Regions from separate parts of the Homo sapiens genome. Here regions 1 and 3 are each linked to region 2. Evidence: promoter capture Hi-C in 16 types of primary human blood cells and fetal thymus (Javierre and others, 2016). All regions are on one chromosome and are shown on one strand. Each heading gives the region's core, a stretch centred on a gene start or on the middle of the fragment in contact. The rest is flanking DNA. Distances are from core to core; before and after follow the strand shown.

Evidence for each region. Contacts are between HindIII fragments. The CHiCAGO score rates a contact against its expected background, and 5 or more counts as called.
Region 1: a fragment that was not itself captured here is called in contact with the fragment with the promoter of KLF3 in region 2 in 10 of 17 cell types (total CD8 T cells, fetal thymus, activated CD4 T cells and 7 more); the score reaches 17.2 in total CD8 T cells.
Region 3: a contact is called between a fragment that was not itself captured here and the fragment with the promoter of KLF3 in region 2, in 1 of 17 cell types (fetal thymus). The highest score is 5.1, in fetal thymus.

Annotation. Positions count from the first base shown.
Region 1 is chr4:38,129,465-38,133,100 of GRCh38, forward strand. It overlaps TBC1D1 (TBC1 domain family member 1), which reads left to right. Exons shown (of 22, transcript NM_001396959.1): 21 at 3,620-3,636. Among named protein-coding and RNA genes, the nearest start is that of PTTG2, 170 kb to the left of the region's middle. RefSeq lists an enhancer at 1-395 and a silencer at 3,474-3,613. The HindIII fragment of the contact is 2,765 bases long and covers 887-3,636 here.
Region 2 is chr4:38,662,435-38,665,957 of GRCh38, forward strand. KLF3 (KLF transcription factor 3) reads left to right here and starts at 1,765. Exons shown (of 6, transcript NM_016531.6): 1 at 1,765-2,027. KLF3-AS1 (KLF3 antisense RNA 1) reads right to left here and starts at 2,459. Exons shown (of 16, transcript NR_171644.1): 1 at 2,360-2,459. RefSeq lists silencers at 666-1,185, 1,216-1,485, 1,496-2,095, 2,156-2,505 and a promoter at 1,225-2,027. The HindIII fragment of the contact is 3,872 bases long and covers 147-3,523 here.
Region 3 is chr4:38,147,256-38,150,831 of GRCh38, forward strand. No RefSeq gene overlaps it. Among named protein-coding and RNA genes, the nearest start is that of PTTG2, 190 kb to the left of the region's middle. The HindIII fragment of the contact is 419 bases long and covers 1,058-1,476 here.

The sequences.
Region 1 (3,636 bases), core at 1,019-3,518, 530 kb before region 2:
TTAGTGGGTTTGATGTTTTTTGTAATTCACTACAGATAGTGTGTGCCCCCTTGTTGCTGATACCAGGCCGACTGTTCCCACTCTCCAGCCCTTGGTATGACAATGGGACCAGCAGATTGGAGGGCAGGGGGTTAGGAAGGCGGAAGCTCTGTGGCGAGTTCTGCAAACCATCAGGGTTCATGACTTTATTAATCAGTGTCCATGGACTGTGAAGAGAAATGCTGAGTCTACAATAGCAAATGAGCCAAGAACATAAACAGACAATTCACCGAAGAGGAGATATCTAGTAAACAAATATCTGGGAAAGTATTTGGCTTCATGTGTAATTTAAACTTATGTAACATATAATGCTTTACTCTACTAGATAATAGAAAGACATTTCTTGATGCCAGTACCCAGCACCAAGGGTATACTGTATGCAGAACATTAGCATGTTGCTGATGGCAGTGCACATTGATTAGTGGCTGTTGGGAGACAATTTGGCGAAACATATCCCAAGCCAGTAAAATATTCATACCCTTTGACTCAGTCATCCCGTTTCTTGGAATGTATCCTCAGGAAATAATCCAAAATATGAGGGAAGCCATATGTATAAGGTTATTCTCCTAGACTTGTCACTTATAATAACAGAAACTTGGAACTAGATGTCTAACACTTGATGACTGGATTAATATGATGATGGTAGGTTGAGCTGGTAGAATATCATGAAGCCAGTTATATATAGCGACATGAAAAAGCTCTTATTTGATACAATGTTAAGTAAAGGAAAAGTGGGATAGGAAATTTTATGTTGGTTATGTTTAGAACTAGAAAAACATGCTTTTAGGAAATAGGAAATATAGCTAGATATAAAAGTTGTATTTGGTGATTTTTCTTTTATTTTTCAAGCTTCCAATAATGTAGCTCTATTGCTTCAGTAACTTAAAATAGTTTTATCTTTTCGGCAAAACATCGAAAGTATGGAAATAGTCATTCCTACTTTGGCAAACAGAAGAGAAATTTTCTTCAGTACCAAAATTCTGGAACTTGACTGAAAACTATGAAGAACCTAAGAGCCAGGATGACAGGAAGGCTCTAGATCCCCAGTAATTACAACTCTAGTGGAATTGCTCTGAGATGGGCCAGCAAGAAAGAAGATGAGAGCCAGTCCCCCTTGCAGAGGGGCCAGGTACCTTGCAGCTTTGTGTAGTGACCAGTGCTCAGGGAACGGCTTAGGCAAGACCCTGGGGGAGGTGGGCACTGCACTTGTCCAGCCTCAGGAGTGACTCAGACCAGAAATGAAAACACCTTAAAGTGTATATATCTTGTTTTCCTATCAACACCTAGTTTTTAATATTCGTCTGTTTTATTCATCTGAGACAACATACCAAAGGATTGGGTTTTTAATGTTAGGCCTTCCTGCTCTTTCTCTGGCTGAGAACTGCTCCTGGCAGTGGATCACTTGTGCTGTCTAAGTGTGCAAGGACAGGCGCCCCTCCCAATTCTTTTCTTTCCCCAAGTAATTAGCCCAAGGGCTGAAGCCCTCGTTCAGTGACCAGGGTTCTCCTTTGACCACCAGCCTCATATTGCCATGGTTTGGGGTAAATTCAGGGGCATAACTGCAGAATGAAGGGCCTAGGAGTCTTGGCAGTCAGGAGATCATCAGGCAATTAAGCAGAGATGATTGTGACCCAGGGTGGTTCCTAGGGATTAATGGAGGCCTGGAAGAGTTTATGGCTTTGGGTACTGCTGAGAGCCATTAACTTAACACAGAACATCAATCCGTAGGAAAAGCCAGAGGTTTTGTTCCCAGGCTTTCCAGGTTAGGAGATCACTTAAATCTTTGTGAAAGAAAAAAAGTAATAGTGTACATGACATTTATTCAGCACCATATTTATAATTATACATGAGTGCCAAACAATCTCAGTTTTAACATTTGTGGTTTTTACTGTTCAGACTATTCAGAAGTTCCATGACGTGGCATCCATTGATGATGGTTTTGCTGAGGTTGAAATGTGAGGGTTTTGTGGCAGGTGTGTGGAAGCAGATCCCTTAGCTAAGAGAGCGCCTGCTCAACCTGCCAGGCGTGTGCTGGGAACTTCCAGGAGTTGCCTCGTTTAATTCTCACAGCCATCCTGGGAGGTAGGCGCTGTCTGCCCCAGGTGGGAGGCCAGGAACTGTGGCTGAGAGAGGTTAAGTACCGAGCTCAAGTCATTCATAGAGTCGCCAGTGGAGCCGCAATTTTAAGGCTGACTCAAAGCCTCTGAGCCAGTTACCTCGGCTGTCAAATGGAGATAATAATCCCTGCTGACCTCACGGTCGCTCTGAAGGACAAAAGAGAATCAGTTCAATCCAGTAAACAATTCTCTCTCTCCCTCTTACTCCCCTCGCACACATGCACACACACCCCACAGATATAATGGATTTTAGTTTTTAGGCATCAAATGACTTTTGTGCCTTATTAATATTATCCACTGAATCAAAAACAGCAAGCTGAAAAATTCATCTCAAGGAAGAGAAAATAAGATTGTTGGGAATGGTGAGAAAGGAAACATGGTTTTTGAAAATTGATTCCAGGGAAGATAGGCTAGTTTGAATGCCAGTAGGGAGCCATCAGAAGAAGTAGTTTTACACTGATTTTTAACAATATTGGAGTTGCTTAAGGCAATGCAATAGAGAGGCAGTTTCTGCCCTTTTAAAGCCTGACTTCACTTTCTGAATGTGTGTTCTGATCTAGCAGGGTTTTTTTTTTTTTTCTTTTAAGATGGTCCCAGCTTGACTGCATTCTCAGATCCATCAGATAAACGTTAGGGCTTCACTGCTGTGCTGAGAGGCCCCAGCCCCTGGGGTTCTCTCATAGAAACAACTGGAAAGAAAGGAAATGCCTTGGGCAGCAGCAGCAGCAGCTGTCTTCTGATTCTGCTTTCCGCCCTGCCTTCCTTACCAAGAGAAAGTACAGACACGGACGGCTTGAGTCACTTAGGCACTTAGGAGTTGTTTTTCACACGTGTGGTGTTTTCGTCACCATTACTATTGTGGGAAAGAAGACAACTCAGGCATCGTTTCGTATTCACTCATCTGTGTGGGTGACATGTGGGTTTTGGCTCATTTCTGCATATTTGTGTGCAAAGGAGAGTTTTTTAGTAAACAGTCCCATTACTTAGCTGTTCTTGTAACTCTGAAAACCCAACTGAACTATAATTAAACTTTGACTTGGTGACTCTGCAAACAGGCTATGATTCTTTTGTTTCTTTTCTCCTTTTAACCCATAGTTGATGTATCTAACCTAACAGAATTTTCAGAGAAAAGAAGTGAAATAAGAACTAAAAATAAATTTTTATGTCTTTAAAAATGAGAGGTTTTTTTTTTTTTTTTGGCTTTTGGAAGGTGAGTATCAAAAACCTGTACTTAATGTTACCTTGGAATTATTTCTAGATGTTTCTTATATCCTTTTGTCCCAAGTAAAATTATTACCTTCTCAGTGCGTAGTTTTTCTTATTTATTACTTCTAGTACCAAGTGTAGAGCTAAGCGTAGAGGAGACGCTTCACAGGTGCGCATTGTCGTGATTGCAGACGCCTGCCTGTACTTGTGGGGTTTTTCTCAGTTTTAGTACGTGATGACTTTTCTTTCTATAACAGGTATTTGAAATGGACAT
Region 2 (3,523 bases), core at 515-3,014:
AGGCAGCCAATCAGCCATTTAATGATGTCAGTGATCAATAAATGGCAATTAGTAATTGACACGAATCCAACTCTTTTTTTTTCTGGAATGTCTTTTATTCATTATGAAGAAAAAAAAAACTCACACCCTTTACATTTTAAAGATGAAGCTTATGGGACAGCACGACGTCCCATGAGCCGGCGTCGGTTCTGGGTATCCTCCACGTGGCCTTTCCTGGACTTGCGTTATTTAAAATATGCGATTTCACTACTTGAGGTTACCGAGTACTAATTTTACAATACTGTGTAGCTACATGAAGCGGCTCGAAATATACTATTATCACTCCGTTTTAAGCAGCACGATGTCTGGATGAAGCATCAAAGCGAGATGGGTCAACTTAAAGGGCCTTTAAAACATCTTGAAGCAATAATAAGCCATACACTGAAGCAGGGGCGGTTTTAAACATTACACAGAACTTAAAACAATCGAACGAATTCGTCCTTTGTTCTTTTTATTACATTAATTATTACATTAATACTGTTTAAAAAGAAACTCAAAAGGCATTAAACTTAGGTACCAATCTACACAAAGTCCTCGAAGGGGCCTGGCTTGGACCGAACGCGCTTTTGTGCCGCCCCGCTCGCTCGCAGCACCCTGAAGGCCACTGAGCTTAGGGCGCTAGGTCCCTAGAAGCGACTTGAAATGAGGGGGTCGCCAGGCCAGGCCCTCGCTCTGCAGGGGAGGATCCGACCAAAGTTTGCCAAGTTTCCAGGCAAGCCCAACTGCGCAAATGCCGCTTTTTAGCTCCAGCGGCAGGCCTGGCCCGTGGGAGTTTTGCCCCAGGGGTCTCCGGGCCTTCAAAGAAAAGTCCCACGAGGTGGGGGGCGCCGCCTGGGCCGCCGGCCAGGGGGACCCGTCGCCCCAGGGCACAAAGAAAGAGCGCGCCTACAGGGTGTCCCCTGACCCCGGCGACTCGGGGCCAGGGAGGCTCGGCGCGCCCCAGCGGCCGCTCTTCCCCTCCCGAACCCGCCCGGCCCACTCGCTCCTGCACCGCGGCCGCCTCGGCTCGGCTTTTCTCTTGCAGTGAGCTGAGTGCGCTCAGCCGAGGAGGGGCCGCGCCGCGCCGCGCCGGCCGCGGGGCCCAGCCCTTCCCGCCGCGCCCGGGGCCGCCCTTCCCGCTGGAGCCGGCTGATCGATGGCCCTGGCAGCCCGCGCCCCCCGCCTCGGCTCGCCCGCGAGCCCGGCTGTGTGTTTTGGAAGCAGCGCAGCGGGCCGCAGCCGTGTGACGCCCGGAGCGGGCAGCGCCGCCCTTCCTTCCCCCCGGGCTCGGGCGGCGGCGCGGCGGCTGGGCCGGGCGGGAGGGCTGGCGGGGCGCGGACTCCGGGGAGGAGGGCGCGGGGAGGGGACGCGGGCGGGGACGCGGGCGGGGGGCGGAGGCCGCGCCGCGCACGCCCAGCCCCACGGCCGCGCCGCGCCTCGTGGGACAGGTTGGGCCGGCGGGGCGGCGCCCGGCTCCGGGGAATAATGAGTGTCTGTCAGGCCGTCCCCGGGTGACTGGGCGGGGCGGGGCGGAGGCGGCGCGGGAGGCGGGGGTGGCGGGGGAAGGGCGCAGGGCGGGGTGCGTGTTTGCGCGAGTGACTCGGCCGACCCCTCCGGCGGCTGCCTCCACCCAAGTGGGTGGGGACCCGCCCAGCCCGGGCGGCCGCGGCGGCTCCCTCTCCCCTCCCTGACCCTCCCACCCCGGGTCCCAGCCTCTACTTACCCCGCCAGCCCCGGGAGGCTCGCAGAGCGAGCGGCGCCGGCGTCATGTGACTGCCCGGAGTTGGTGCCAGGAGCCAGAGGGGAGCCAGGAGCGGAGCCGCGCGGAGCCGGGGCCCGAGCCGGAGCGCAGCGAGAGCGCCCGCCGCACGCGCGCCCGTCCCCGTCCCCTGCGGCCGCCAACGCCGCCCGGACTGGAGCCCTGACATTGCTGCGCTCGGGGGGCTCCAGGCAGCCCGTATCGGGGCCTTTATTTCTCGTCGGCGGCGCCCTGCACCGCGCCTCGCAAAGTAAGTCCCGTCTCCCTCACCTCTGCTCCGCACCCTGGTCCCTGCCGCCCCCCTCCTCGGCCAGTCTGGTTTCATTTTTTCTCCTGGAGGGGGCCGCGGGGAATGGGTCGGGGGTGCAGCGCTGGTGTTGGGGGGGGCGCCTGCGGGCTTGGGAAAGTGTGGCGGCTACACTTAGCCGGGGTGGGGGCGGAGAGCAAGCAAGGAGGAGGGGGTCACGGGTTCGCGGTGAAAAGTGAGGGGTTGAGGCGAGGCACCGTGCGGACCCCGGGTGCGGGGGAGCGGGGCTGGCAGCGCCCGCCGCCGTCCCGGGCAGGGCGCGGGCGGGGGCTCACCTGTGTGGTCCCCGGCCTCCTCCCGCCCGCTCACGATTCCCTCCAAAGCCCCAGAAATCTCCGTGCTCTCCGCGTGTGGCAACGTTGTTTGGAGAAAGGTAGCGCCGCGGCCGCGCGCTCCTGCTCCTCCCCCTCCCGGTGCCCCCCCACCACCACCACAACCCAGGCTCCCGCGTCCTTCCCCTCCCCTCCCTCCGCCCGCGCCCCCCGCCGCCCCCCTCCCAGGACACGGCGCGCGGCCGCTCGCCCGCCACAGCAAACTTGGAGCAGTCTCCCGGCCCTCTGGAAAGAAACTTAGGGCAATTGGGATTGGAGGCAGCATCCCATTCTCGGTTCTGGAGCCCAGGAGCTGCCAGGGCGTCTGGATCCTCCGGGGCAGGAGAAATGAGCTGGTCGGGTTTGGAGAGTCTTCCTGGGGGCATGGAGAGAACCTGCCGCAGTGCCTGGAGCAAGGATTGCAGCGTGGCTGAAGGCGGAAGACGCCTTAGGCAACTGCCTGCAGCCGAGCCTGATGGGGACCCAGGGACAGATCCCTGGATCAGGACCCATGGGACCTACCTAACATTTCCAAGTGGCTTTCTTAGAGATGGCAGATGAGATCTGGAATTGTCATATTCATTTTTTTGGGCAGATAGCTACTGACAAGGAGAAGCACTTTTCTGGTTTAAATTTTATAGCAGTATACAATAATACTAGAAGAATGTGAATGAGACTTATTTTTAATAAGTCAAGTTAAACGGAAATTGGAAATTGCTCACCTTCTTGTATTTCACTAAAATAAACATTTTACACTTAACCACTGAATTTCTTACTCAGAATTTATGTTTCCATTAATATCACCCAAGACATTTTAAATATATTGATTATATTCTCACAAGAGTCTGGTATATGGGAAAAAGTATGAAGTGGTATTCTGACAAGTACCTGAAATGTGCCAGCAAAATCAAGTGGGGAATAGGCCAGTTGTTCATTATAGGTTTTTCCACACAGCAGTTTTGTGCTATCCTTTTCTGTACGAATTTGAGGAGCATTTTTATAAGAGAAATTCATCTGGATGATCTGCCTCACCCTAGGGAAGAAGACTTGCTTTTAGGGGAAAAAACAATCTGCTAGCATTAATATCTACAAATTTTTTGGAGTTAGTAATAGTGTTTAAGGAAAGTG
Region 3 (3,576 bases), core at 17-2,516, 520 kb before region 2:
GATAATGATAGAAATAATAGTTCACACTCATAAAGAGATAACTAATGAATGAGCCAAGTACTGATGAGTACTGTGTAAGTTTGTTTCATTTAATCTCAAAACTATAGGAGAGGTACCATTATTATCCTAATTTATAGTTGGGGAAGCTATCTAAAGAGGTCATGCCTACTGCCCAAGGCCACCAAGCCCAGCAGTTCAGACTCAAGAGCCCATGCTCTTGACCACTGCCACTGCAGTATACAAATCCACTCCAGTCTTTTTTTTTCTTTTATCTTTTTTTTTTTTTTTTTTTTTTGAGATGGAGTCTCACTCTGTCACCAGGCTGGAGTGCAGTGGCATGATCTTGGCTCCCTCCACCTTCCCAGCTTCAAGCAATTCTCCTGCCTCAGCCTCCAGAGTAGCAGGGACTACACGCCCAGCTAATTTTTGTATTTTTAGTAGAGACAGGGTCTCACCACATTGGACAAGATGGTCTCGATCTCTTGACCTCATGATCTGCTTGCCTTGACCTCCCAAAGTGCTGGGATTACAGACATGAGCCACTGCGCCCGGCCCACTTCACTCTTCAACACCTGAACATAATATTTCTGTGCTTGGATGCACCACAACGTATTGAACCAGGTTCACACTGATGGACATTTGAGTTTATCTGCCTTGAGCATATCTGCACATAATACCTTTGTGAATCTGTAAATGTATCTGAAAGATAAATTCAGTGAATCACAGCAGCAAAGAGCACAAACTGAAGTCCTGATCCCCATCCCCTCAGATCAACCCTGTCCCCCACAGATCTCCGTGTTGGTCAATGGCACTGTCATTCACTCAGTTGCTTAGTTGACCCCTTTCTTTTTCTCATATCCTACATCCAGTCCATCAAACACATCCTTTCTACATCCCCTCAGTCTGTTCTTCACACAGCATCCAAAGTGGACCTTTCAAAACAAATCATGTCACTACCCTGCTTTAACCAAACTCTAGTGGTTTCCCATCACATTAAAACAAAGTGTTAAGTACTTATGAGGCCCTGAAAGGCTGGCAGTTGTTGGGATGCAATTTAAGCTTCTGCACAGCCACTCAAAATAGAGTTGCTCAAACAAAATAGCAACTTCTCAAACCTTTATAGCAGTCCAGAGGGCAGGTGGGCCATTTGGGATGGAGAGTGTTTCTGTTCTACAAGGCCAACTGAAGACCCAGGTTCCTTCTGTCTTCTTACTCCTCCAACATCCAGGGCAGTAGTTCTCAACTAGGGGTAATTTTGTTCCCTGGGGTACATTTGACAATGTCTGGAGACATTTTTGGTTTTAACAACTGGGGAATGAAGAAGGGTGTGTGTTAGTGTCATCTAGTGGGTAGAGGCCAGAGATGGCTGCTAAACATCCTACAATACTTTGAACAGCCTCCGCAACAAGTTATCATGGGTCCAAAATGTCAGTATTGCTGATGTTGAGCAACCCTGTTCTTGGGCAGTGGTTTTGAAGCTTGAGTCCCCTGGAGGGTTTCTTAAAATACAGATGGCTGGGCCCCACCCCCAAGGTTTCTGATTCAGTAGTTCTGGAGGGGGGCCTGAAAATTTGCATTTTGGTAAGTTTCCCGATGATGCTGAGGATGCAGGTCCAAGGACCACACTTTCTTTAAGAAACTCTGCCCTGGAGACTTTGCCTTGTCCACAGGGAAGAAATAGGCTTACCAGCACCAGGTCTTTGCTCTGCCTGTGAGAAAGGATAAAAGAGAGGGGAACATTGCCCATTTATTGCCCGTTGCCCATTTTATAAATACAGAACCAAGAAGTAGCAGAAACCATTTCCATCCATGGTCCATTAGCATGAACTCACTGATGTAGCCACACCAAGTGGCACAAGAGCCTGGGAGATAGGGTCTCAATGTGAGCCCCACAAAGATGGGGGATTTTGGCTGGGCATGGTTGCTCATGCCTGTAATCGCAGCACTTTGGGAGGGTGAGGCGGGTGGATCACCTGAGGTCAGGAGTTCGAGACCAGCCTGGCCAACATGGTGAAACCCTGTCTCTACTAAAAATACAAAAATTAGCCGGGCATGGTGGTGGGCGCCTGTGGTCCCAGCTACTCGGGAGGGTGAGGCAGGAGAATCACTTGAATCTGGGAGGCGGAGGTTGCAGTGAGCCGAGATCGCGCCACTGCACTCGATTGCCAGCCTGGGCAACAGAGCGAGACTCCGTCTCAGGAAAAAAAAAAAAAAAGATGGGGGGATTTTATTACAAAGGGAAGAAGGGAATGTGGATATTAGAGACAGTTCACAGTCTCTGCTGAAAGGCTCTGCCAAGATCTGCCCCCACCCCTCCTTGCTCTCAGACCTTGCTTCCTACCTCTCCTCCTCACTTACTGCAACTCTCTGGCCTCTGCTCTGCTGACAACCCCCATGCTCCCTCTCAGGGCATCTGCACTCATTGCTCCATCTGCTTTGGAAGCTCCTGTCCTGGTCAGACATTTGGTTTGTTTCCTCACTTCACTGTGGTCTCACCTTGTCTAATAGGCAGCCCCTGCCCCCTCTGCCCTGTACTCTCTATCCAGCCCTGTCCATGCTAATTACTGCTCTCTGACAGTATAGTCCATGTTTGGTTGCTTATCTGTCTGTCCCTGCCACAGGAAAGTAAGATTTGTGAGGAAAGGGTCTTACTTCCTCACTGTTGTTATATCTTGGGCAGCACTTGGACATAAGAGGCAATCAGATATTCAGTAAACAAATGAAAGTGCATCTTTCATTTTTGACAGACGCTGCCAGATTGGTGTTTAGAATGTAAATCCATGAGCCTGCTCAACCCTCATTAATATGGAATATTTTCTTTGAGCTTCTTGTGCCCAGTGTGGTTGCAAATAGGCCTTGCGGGCCTGGAACATTCATCACTCGCCTCTGCCTCGCTGGGGTGGCCTCATCTCCCCAGGTTCCTTGAAGCTGCACTTCCCAGCTGGGATGTGAGCCAGAGGAAACAAGGGGGTCTGGCTGCAAATCCTTCTAAGGAGGGGACCCCACCTCTCAGAGGAGTGTGTGATGGTCACACCCATTTAACGTGATAGCCCAATCAAGGGAGAGGCCATAGATTCATCTGATTTAGCCCCCCAGAAAAAAATCATATCCTTATCTAAACTATCTTGACTTACAAGATTCTTAATGGCTCAAAAGTGCTTTATCAGCTCAAGCTGATCTAAGAAAATAAACATTTCATAATTGTGATAATACAAGTGGCTCCAGACGAAAGAACAGCTCAATCCTGATGGATGGTTCTTATAAATAAACCAGGCAATCACACACTGCAGAAATAACTAGAATTTCTATGACTTCACGGGGAGCCAAATGGAAATGCCCTTGCCAAGTGAATGCTAAAGTCATCCCATAGTCAAAATGTGGTCAGGCGCTAAGTGTGAGCCAAAACATTTTGCTGCAGCTACAGCCATTCCTCAAGTGGAACCCAGTTAACTTGGGTCCTCAAATTGAATTTTTATGCTTTGATTTTTAGGGAAAGGGAATACACTATAACAAAATATTGCACATAGAAAGGGTCTGATTAAAACCAAAGAGAAACAAGATACCAGCGACCAGCAG